2 separate regions of the Homo sapiens genome follow, and region 2 is linked to region 1. Evidence: promoter capture Hi-C in human tissues and cell types (Jung and others, 2019). All regions are on one chromosome and are shown on one strand. The core of a region is centred on a gene start or on the middle of the fragment in contact, and the rest is flanking DNA. Distances in the headings are between cores, read along the strand shown.

What was found. Contacts are between HindIII fragments. The study calls those that stand out against the background at their distance.
Region 2: a contact is called between a fragment that was not itself captured here and the fragment with the promoter of TRAM2 in region 1, in 2 of the 25 tissues and cell types used here (H1 embryonic stem cells and adrenal gland).

The regions. Positions count from the first base shown.
Region 1 is chr6:52,573,914-52,578,309 of GRCh38, reverse strand. It overlaps TRAM2 (translocation associated membrane protein 2), which reads left to right and starts at 1,250. Exons shown (of 11, transcript NM_012288.4): 1 at 1,250-1,514. The coding sequence starts at 1,395. It overlaps TRAM2-AS1 (TRAM2 antisense RNA 1), which reads right to left and starts at 1,108. Exons shown (of 3, transcript NR_103446.1): 1 at 1-1,108. RefSeq lists silencers at 678-1,537, 3,395-3,444 and an enhancer at 3,795-3,844. The HindIII fragment of the contact is 6,429 bases long and covers 1-4,396 here.
Region 2 is chr6:52,439,198-52,443,438 of GRCh38, reverse strand. The region is part of intron 3 of EFHC1 (EF-hand domain containing 1); the gene reads right to left. Among named protein-coding and RNA genes, the nearest start is that of EFHC1, 21 kb to the right of the region's middle. The HindIII fragment of the contact is 6,132 bases long and covers 1-4,241 here.

The DNA.
Region 1 (4,396 bases), core at 1-2,500:
GTTCCTCACAAGACGAAGGTTCAACTTTGAGAAAGGTCAGCCTTGAAGTTAAATGAGGTTTAGTCCAATCTAGGCATTACTTTGTCATTTCCTTGAGAGTCAGATAAGGGAATTACAGACCCAAGACTGTATTTTAAGTAAGGTGGAGTGCAGATTGAGGAAGTAAAATTTCTCTAGGAACTCCATCCTGTCTCAATTACATTCCACCGCGTGCCACTTTTAAAAAACCATATTTATTTAGAAGTGAAATAACTGTGGACCTAATAAAAAATGGAATAGGAATTAGTTTTTTTTGTTCATTACGTATTTCTGCACATCTAGAAAGTAACTGACTGCTTCATTACTGGTAGGATTAAATCCAATATTTGCGAATATAATTTATTAAGAACACCTTTTGTCCTTCCAGGAGTACTTTTAAGACTTAATATTAAATAGAAACTTTCAGTGAGAAAGTTCCTTCCTTTTTTGCTTCTTCTGTGTTTATTCTTCCACTTCTTCTGATTAATATGTAAGGTAGACTTTCGGTGAAATGTGTGTAGCTAATTAATGGTGGCATGAGGGTCCCAAAAATTACTGGGCAAAACTGCAATCATCCACCCTCTCCCCGCATTGGAGCGAAAGCTCCCCTAGGGCAGGGTCTTTCGGTTTGTTGATCTACCTGAACTGTGCCTAGCCCACTGCAAGTTCTCGATAAATACTTGAGTAATCTCCATTCACTGATCGTCCGTGCAGGGCGCTGTGGCCAGCCAGAAGGCCGGTTCGCGGCTTCCCTGCTTCCGCCGCACCCGCGCCGCCCTCAGCCCCCGGGGCCACAGCCCGCAACCCCGGGAGCATCCGGCTGCCCGGCCACCCCCGGGGCGCTCGCTGCCTCCGGGGCCTGCCCTTCCCGCGGAGGAAGGAGCGGAGCGAGGAGTGGGAAAGCTGGGCCCACTTCCTGTCCGGGCAGGCCTGGGCGCCCGCCTCCTCCGCGGCCTGCTTTCTCCACCGCGAGCGGCTGAGCCTCGGGCCCCGAGAATGCGGCCGGGCGCGGCGCTGGCGCGGGACGAGGAGGAGCCGAGCCCCGCTCGCCGCCCCCGTACGCCTCCGCCCCGGTAGCCCGCGCGTGCCCAGCGGCTAGAGGGTTAAGCCCGCGGGGGGCGGGGCCAGGCGCGCCGAGTGCGGGCCGCGGGCTGGGCGGGGGCTGGGCGGGGGCTGCGGCCGGGGGCGGTTACGGGCGGCCGGGGGCGGGCGGAGGAAGGGGGCGGGCCCCGAAGTTGTTCCGCGCTGGGCGGGCGAGCGGCTGTGGGAGAGCGGGCGGCGGGCCGGCGGGCGGACCGGGCCGGTGCTGGAGAAGTTTGCGCTGCGGTTCGTGAGCGCAGGGTGCGGGCCCCGCCGGCCGCTGCGCGCCCGCTGCCATGGCTTTCCGCAGGAGGACGAAAAGTTACCCGCTCTTCAGCCAGGAGTTCGTCATCCACAACCATGCGGACATCGGCTTCTGCCTGGTGCTCTGCGTCCTCATCGGGCTTATGTTCGAGGTGAGAGCCTGGGGAGGAGGGAGCTGGAGGGACAGTGCCCCCTGTCGTGCACCGCCCGGCACACCCCTGCAGGTCAGCGGGCCCTCCTCTGATCGGAGGCTCCTGGCTGCCGTGTACGTTATCTGCACCCCGGCTTTGTGCACTGTACCCCTCCGGCCTGTACCCCGGCCAGCCCAGACAGCACCCCCAGCTCCGCGCCGTGCCAGCCATGCCATGCTCTGCCGCCCCCTTGGGCACTCATCGTATCCTGCAGCTCTGTCTGCAGCCCTGAAACCCCAGCCTGGCCTCGAACCAACCGCCGCGCTGCCACCATGGCTTGACGCGTGGGGTTCCCTTTCTGGCGTCCAGGAGCCAAGCCCAGAGACTCCCAGACCCGCAGTCATTGCACAACCCCCTCTTGCCCCAAGGGGTGGCCACTAGCTCTTCTGGGCTTTTCCAGTGGGAGAGACCCAGAACCTTTTCCACTTCCTATGTGATTTTCTGGGTGTTTTGCATCTCAGCTCTGGAACGTGCTCGGATGTTCACGTGTGGCCCTGGCCCCATCCCAGCAGTGGCCTTCTGCTCTCGTCTCGCTCCCACTTTTTTGCTGTGCTCTAGAAGGCCAATTTTTGGATATCCTTTACCACTCCGTGAACTGTCCCTTTAGATCCATCTGCGGCGACCCAGAGCTTCACCCCCTTTACAGAGACAAGAAGAGAGACAGGGATACCCTCCACTTTTTGGGGAAAGTTGATTCTCTTATAGTGTAGGAGTGGGGGGCAGAGGATGGGGATCCCACCCCCAACAGCAATGTCCTGGTGTCGGCCTCCCAGGCAGGGAGTTGTAGAAAGCCAGCAAGGGGTCAGAATTCACAAGACTGATGGGAAGGATTCCCTACTCTTGCAGAGCAAGAAAAATGTGATATTCAAAAGTGGGAAGAACTGGAGGAAGCTTGGCATGGGTTTGTTGCGGTATATCTTGTCTCAGAAGTGAGATATGTGAGCGACATTCCCCTCACTCTCACCGTGGTCTCCTCTGGTTCCTGAGACTCCTTGTCCTCCCTTCTGCGTCAGCTTGCTTATTGCATTCTCACGGTTGGGTTAGGAAGCTGTGATCATTTACAAACTTCCTTGGAGATGGAGGATGGCTTGCCTGGCTAAATTTCCTTCCCTGTCCCTCTGTCTCGGGTTCCCTGTATCTCTACGAATGACAAGGGCCCTAATTGGCTGGCGAAGCTGCCCTCAAGCTGGGAACGTTCTTGTGGTGGCCAAGTCAGGGTTGGATGAATGAATGTGTCCGTGGCTGAGCTTTAGGGTCTGTAGGAAATAAACGGTGGTGCTAGGACTGGGGTCTCCACTCCACTTTTTGATAGTGCTCCTTTAGTTCAGTCCCTCTCTCCTTCCTCTCCCTCTCACAGCTCTCTCTAGTGGTATATTGGGTCGGGCTTGCTCCACCTTGTTCTGGGTTCTCCCCTGGAAGTGTGTGGTGTCACACAGAGTCATATCCGTGTGTCTCAGTCCCTGTTCTGTGACTAGTCTGACTGAAAACTGACTGCAGCCTCAGTTTCCCCATCATTAAAGACGTTCATAAAACTGGTCTTCGTCACAGGGTGGTTGTAAGGTTTAACTGAGATCATATCAGCAACAAAAGCCATAACATCTCCTACCAACATGAAAAAGTCTCTTGCGCCTGGAGCCCTGTGATTATTTATCATAATAATAGCTTAACAAAATAACAGAATTTCCTTTGCCCAGCGCATTCTCTGCTGTCTGTTTGCTGTCCTCCATTCTAAGAGGCCTCCAAGTGCGTGTCCCCAGCCTTGGAGGGTGTGGCTGGAAAGATACACGTGACAGCTGTAAACCTCAAAGCCACAGGCTGCAGCGACGAAGTTTCTCGCATAGCCTGTGGCTCTCTCCGTCATATTTCTAGCATTTGTTAGGGTTTGTGGCCCTCCCTGTTTTATCTTTGCTCAGAAAGGGCTGCCAGCATTTGAGTTTGGTACCTACCTCCTTCCCTGGGTCTCTAGTCTTATGGAAAGTCCTGTGCATTAAACCTGCCACTCTAAAAGTTGAAAGGTGTTAAGAGCTGTTACTTCCAGTATCTGGTGAAAGAGAAAGGCCCAAGACGAGAAAAACAACAAACAAAACTACTCTTCCTCCCCCTTAGGCTTGTATTGGGGAGTGTAGCAAGGCCCCTGGTTGAAATGCCTACAGGCCCCCTTTTCCTGCCAAGCCCATCACTTCTTCCCATAGCACCTTGAACCTACAGGACCTACAGGGCAGGTGTCTCCTTCTTTTGGAGGTACTTTGTGAGATCATCAGTCTGTGCTTCTCTGGGAGAAAGAGGGCTTTGCCCTAAGCCTCCAGTAAGAAGGTCTTGTGTTCTTCTGTGCTGGGCACATGGTGGGGGCCTCACTGTCTTTACCCACCGACTAACTAACTCTCCACAGAGATAAGTATTCCTGGGGGTGGGGAGGGGGAGTTTGGAACTGCTGCCTCTATCAAATGAGAGCAGAAGCGTCCTGGATACTGTAGGTACCACAGAGAAACAAATGTGGGCATCTTCACACTCAGAGTAAAGCCTGGGGAGACGCCTCATAACCAAGCACAGGACTGGCTGGATATCACTTAGGATCTTCTGGGTTTCTCTCTGGAAGTGTGTGGTGTGCATGTGTGGGTATGTAGGGATGCATATGGTGCGATGGTAGGTGCAACTGGGGACTCACCACCCTTTTCCTAGAAGTGACGGCAGGAAGAGGTGCAAGGGGAATGGGAGAAAGGGGTGAGAGGACATAGGCTTTTGGGGTTCTGACTTGGCCCTGGCTAGGATTCCTTCATTCGGAAGCTGAGCCAGGAAAACTCAATTATAATTCTTCCCACAAAGAGCGACTCTCTTGGCCATTC
Region 2 (4,241 bases), core at 1,681-4,180, 140 kb after region 1:
AAGACTTAAATGTTAGACCTAAAACCATAAACACCCTAGAAGAAAACCTAGGTAATACCATTCAGGACATAGGCATGGGCAAGGACTTCATGACTAAAACACCAAAAGCAATGGCAACAAAAGCCAAAATTGACCAATGGGATGTAATTAAACTAAAGAGCTTCTGCACAGCAAAATAAACTACCATCTGAGTGAACAGGCAACCTACAGAATGGGAGAAAATTTTTACAATCTACCCATCTGACAAAGGGCTAATATCCAGAATCTACAAAGAACTTAAACAAATTTACAAGAAAAAATAAAACAACCCCATCAAAAAGTGGGCGAAGGATATGAACAGACACTTCTCAAAAGAAGACATTTATGCAGCCAACAGATACGTGAAAAAATGCTCATCATCACTGGCCATCAGAGAAATGCAAATCAAAACCACACATCTCATGCCAGTTAGCATGGAGATCATTAAAAAGTCAGGAAACAACAGGTGCTGGAGAGGATGTGGAGAAATAGGAATGCTTTTACACTGTTGGTGGGAATGTAAACTAATTCAACCATTGTGGAAGACAGTGTGGTGATTCCTCAAGGATCCAGAACAAGAAATACCATATGACCCAGCCATCCCATTACTGGGCATATACCCAAAGGATTATAAATCATGCTGCTATAAAGTCACATGCACACATATGTTTATTGCGGCACTATTCACAATAGCAAAGACTTGGAACCAACCCAAATGTCCAACAATGATAGACTGGATTAAGAAAATGTGGCACATATACACCATGGAATACTATGCAGCCATAAAAAATGATGAGCTCATGTCCTTTGTAGGGACATGGATGAAGCTGGAAACCATCATTCTGAGCAAACTATCGCAAGGACAGAAAACCAAACACTGCATATTCTCACTCATAGGTGGGAATTGAACAATGAGAACACTTGGACACAGGGTGGGGAACATCACATACTGGGGCCTGTCATAGGGTGGGGGGTGTGGGGAGGGATACCACTAGGAGATATACCTAATTGAATGACAAATTAATGGGTACAGCACACCAACATGGCACATGTATACATATGCAACAAACCTGCACGTTGTGCGCATGTACCCCATAACTTAAAGTATAATAATAAAATAAATAAATAAATAAACTAGGTATTAAAGGAACACACCTCAAAATAATCAGAGCCATCTATGAAAAACCCACAGCCAACATTATATTGAACAGGGAAAAGCTGGAAGCATTCCTCTTGAAAACTGACACAAGAAAAGGATGCCCTCTTCCACAACTTCTATCCAAGACAATATTGGAAGTCTTGGCCAGAACAATCAGTCAAGAGAAAGAAATGAAGGACATCCAAGTAGGAAGAGAGAAAGTCAAACTATCCCTGTTTGGAGAAAACATGATTCTATATCTAGAAAACTCCAGAGCCTCATCCCAAAAACTCCTTAAGTTAATAAACAACTTCGGCAAAATTTTAGGACACAAAATCAACATACAAAAATCACTAGCACTCCTATACACCAACAACAGCCAAGCTGAGAGTAAAATCAGGAACACAATCCCATTTACAACTGTCACAAAAAGAATAAGATACCTAGGAATACAGCTAACCAGGGAGATGAAAGATCTCTACAATGAGAATTACAAAACACTGCTTAAGGAAATCAGAGATAACACAAGCAAATGAAAAAACATTACATGCTCATGGATACGAAAAATCAATATCTTTACAGTCACCATACTGCCCAAAGCAATGTACAGATTCAATGCTATTCCTATCAAATTGCCAGTGACACTCTTCACAGAACTAGAAAAAAATACTTTAAAATTCAATGGTACCCAAAAAGAGCCTGAATAGTCAAGGCAATTCTAAGCAAAAGAACAAAGCTGGAGGCATCATGTTACCTGCCTTCAAACTATACTACAGGGCTACAGTAACCAAAACAGTACAGTACTGGTACAAAAACAGACACATAGACCAATGGAATAGAATAGGGAGCTCAGAAATAAGGCTACACACCTATAATTATGTGATCTTCAACAAAGTTGACAAAAATAAGCAATGGGGAAAGGTGCTGGGATAACCTGCTAGCCATATGCTAGCCATATATCTTACACCAGATATAAAAATCAACTCAAGATAGATAAAAGACTTAAATGTAAAACCCAAAACTATAAACACCCTGGAAGACAACCAAGGCAACACTATTCTAAACATAGGAATGGGCAAAGATTTCATGACAAAGACACCAAAAGCAATCACAACAAAAGCAAAAATTGACAAATGGTATCTAATTAAACGTAAGAGCTTCCGCAGAGCAAAAGAAAGCATCAACAGAGTAAAAAGACTATCTAAAGAATGGGAAAGAAATATTTGCAAACTATGCATCTGACAAAGGTCCAATATGCACCATCTATAAGAAACTTTAATTTACAAGAAAAAAAGCAAAGAACCCCATTAAAAAGTGGGCAAAGGACATGAACAGACACTTCTCAAAAGAAGACATACACATGGCCAATAACCATATGAAAAAAAAGCTCAACATCACTATCATTAGAGAAATGCAAATCAAAACCACAATGAAATATCATCTCACACCAGTCAGAATGGCTATTATTAAAAAGTAAAAAAATAACAGGTGCTGTCAAGGTTGTGGAGAAAAAGAAATGTTTATACACTGGTGATGAGAGTATAAATTAGTTCAACCATTGTAGAAAGCAGTGTAGTGATTCCTAAAAGACCTGAAAACAGAACTACCATTTGACCTAGGAATCTCATTATTGGGTATATACCCAAAGGAATATAAATCATTCTGCCATAAAGACATACCCGCAAGTATGTTCATCGCAGCACTATTCATAATAGCAAAGACATGGAATCAACCTGAATGCCCATCAATGGTAAACTGGAAAAAGAAAATGTGATACATATACACATACATATACATATACATGAAGGTGCCAGATTTTTTGCATTTTTGTGTTTTTTGTTGGTGATTTTGCTGTTTAAAGGGTCCCAGTGCCTAGTGATGAAGTGCTATTTAGTGTTCCTAAGCACAAGAAGGCTGTAACACACCTCATGGAGAAAATGCATGTCTTAGATAAGCTTTGTTCAGACGTGAGTTATAGTGCTGTTGGGTGTGAGTTTAATGTTAATGAATCAACCGTATATATTAAATAAGGTGTCTTTAAACAGAAACATACATGAATCAAACTTATGTATTGATCAGTTGACAAAAATGTGGCCAGAGATTAGTGGGAACCTAACCCTGTATTTCCTCTAAGACTAGTGGTTCAGTATTCACTAATTCAGTGTTTGTGGTGACTTTATAGTCCTAATTACTGTCAATAATGAGAACCGACTATAAATAGATTAGGTCAAACGCTCAGTGATTAACTTGCAAATGTTCAAATTGCCCATAAAAACACAACTGTAAAAATAATTGTTATGAAAACACAACTGTAAAAATAATTGTTAATACATTTATGTTTAGATAACATTTTATCATTTCTCACTGTTGGTACAATTGTGAAACTGCCTATGATATATAAGACCTCAGACACCTAAAAAGCAAAGAGATAAAAATATGTTGGAACGGGAGAATATCTCAAAGATGGTCTAGCACCTCTACTTTTGAAGCTATTTTTCTCTATTGCTTTGGAATGGCACTGATGCCATGGCTCCTTTCTTTACTTCCTTCAGGCCTCTATTCATATGTCATCTTATCACTGAGGCATTCTCTGATCCGCCTCTATAAAGAGCCCCTCAACTTCCATTCCCTTTACTCAGCTTTATTTTCCTCCATTGCTGTTATCATCATCTGACATATAACCAATCTATTTATTTGCTATTGCTTATCTCCTCCAACAAGATTGGAACCTCTATAGGGGCAAGTACCTATAACATGCAAGGAAAGGAGAAATGGTGCACTATTAGCTTGTCATAGTCATCTGAAAAATATCAAGTACCTTCCTGAAAACATCTGGCACCTAGAACAGTGCATGGAACAAAGCAGGCATGCAAATAAATATCTGTTAAACAAACTACTAAATGAAAACAATAATGGATTCATAGGAGCTCAGTGCATGGTAAAAATTAGTCACATATGGCACTAGGTATCCTGGAATAGGGACATAAAATACTTCAGAAACTATATCTTTGCTGCTAGAAATATTTTTTTAACTAAGACAAATTTGGAATTGACTTCCTAATTCCTACACTTTGTAGTAAAGAAA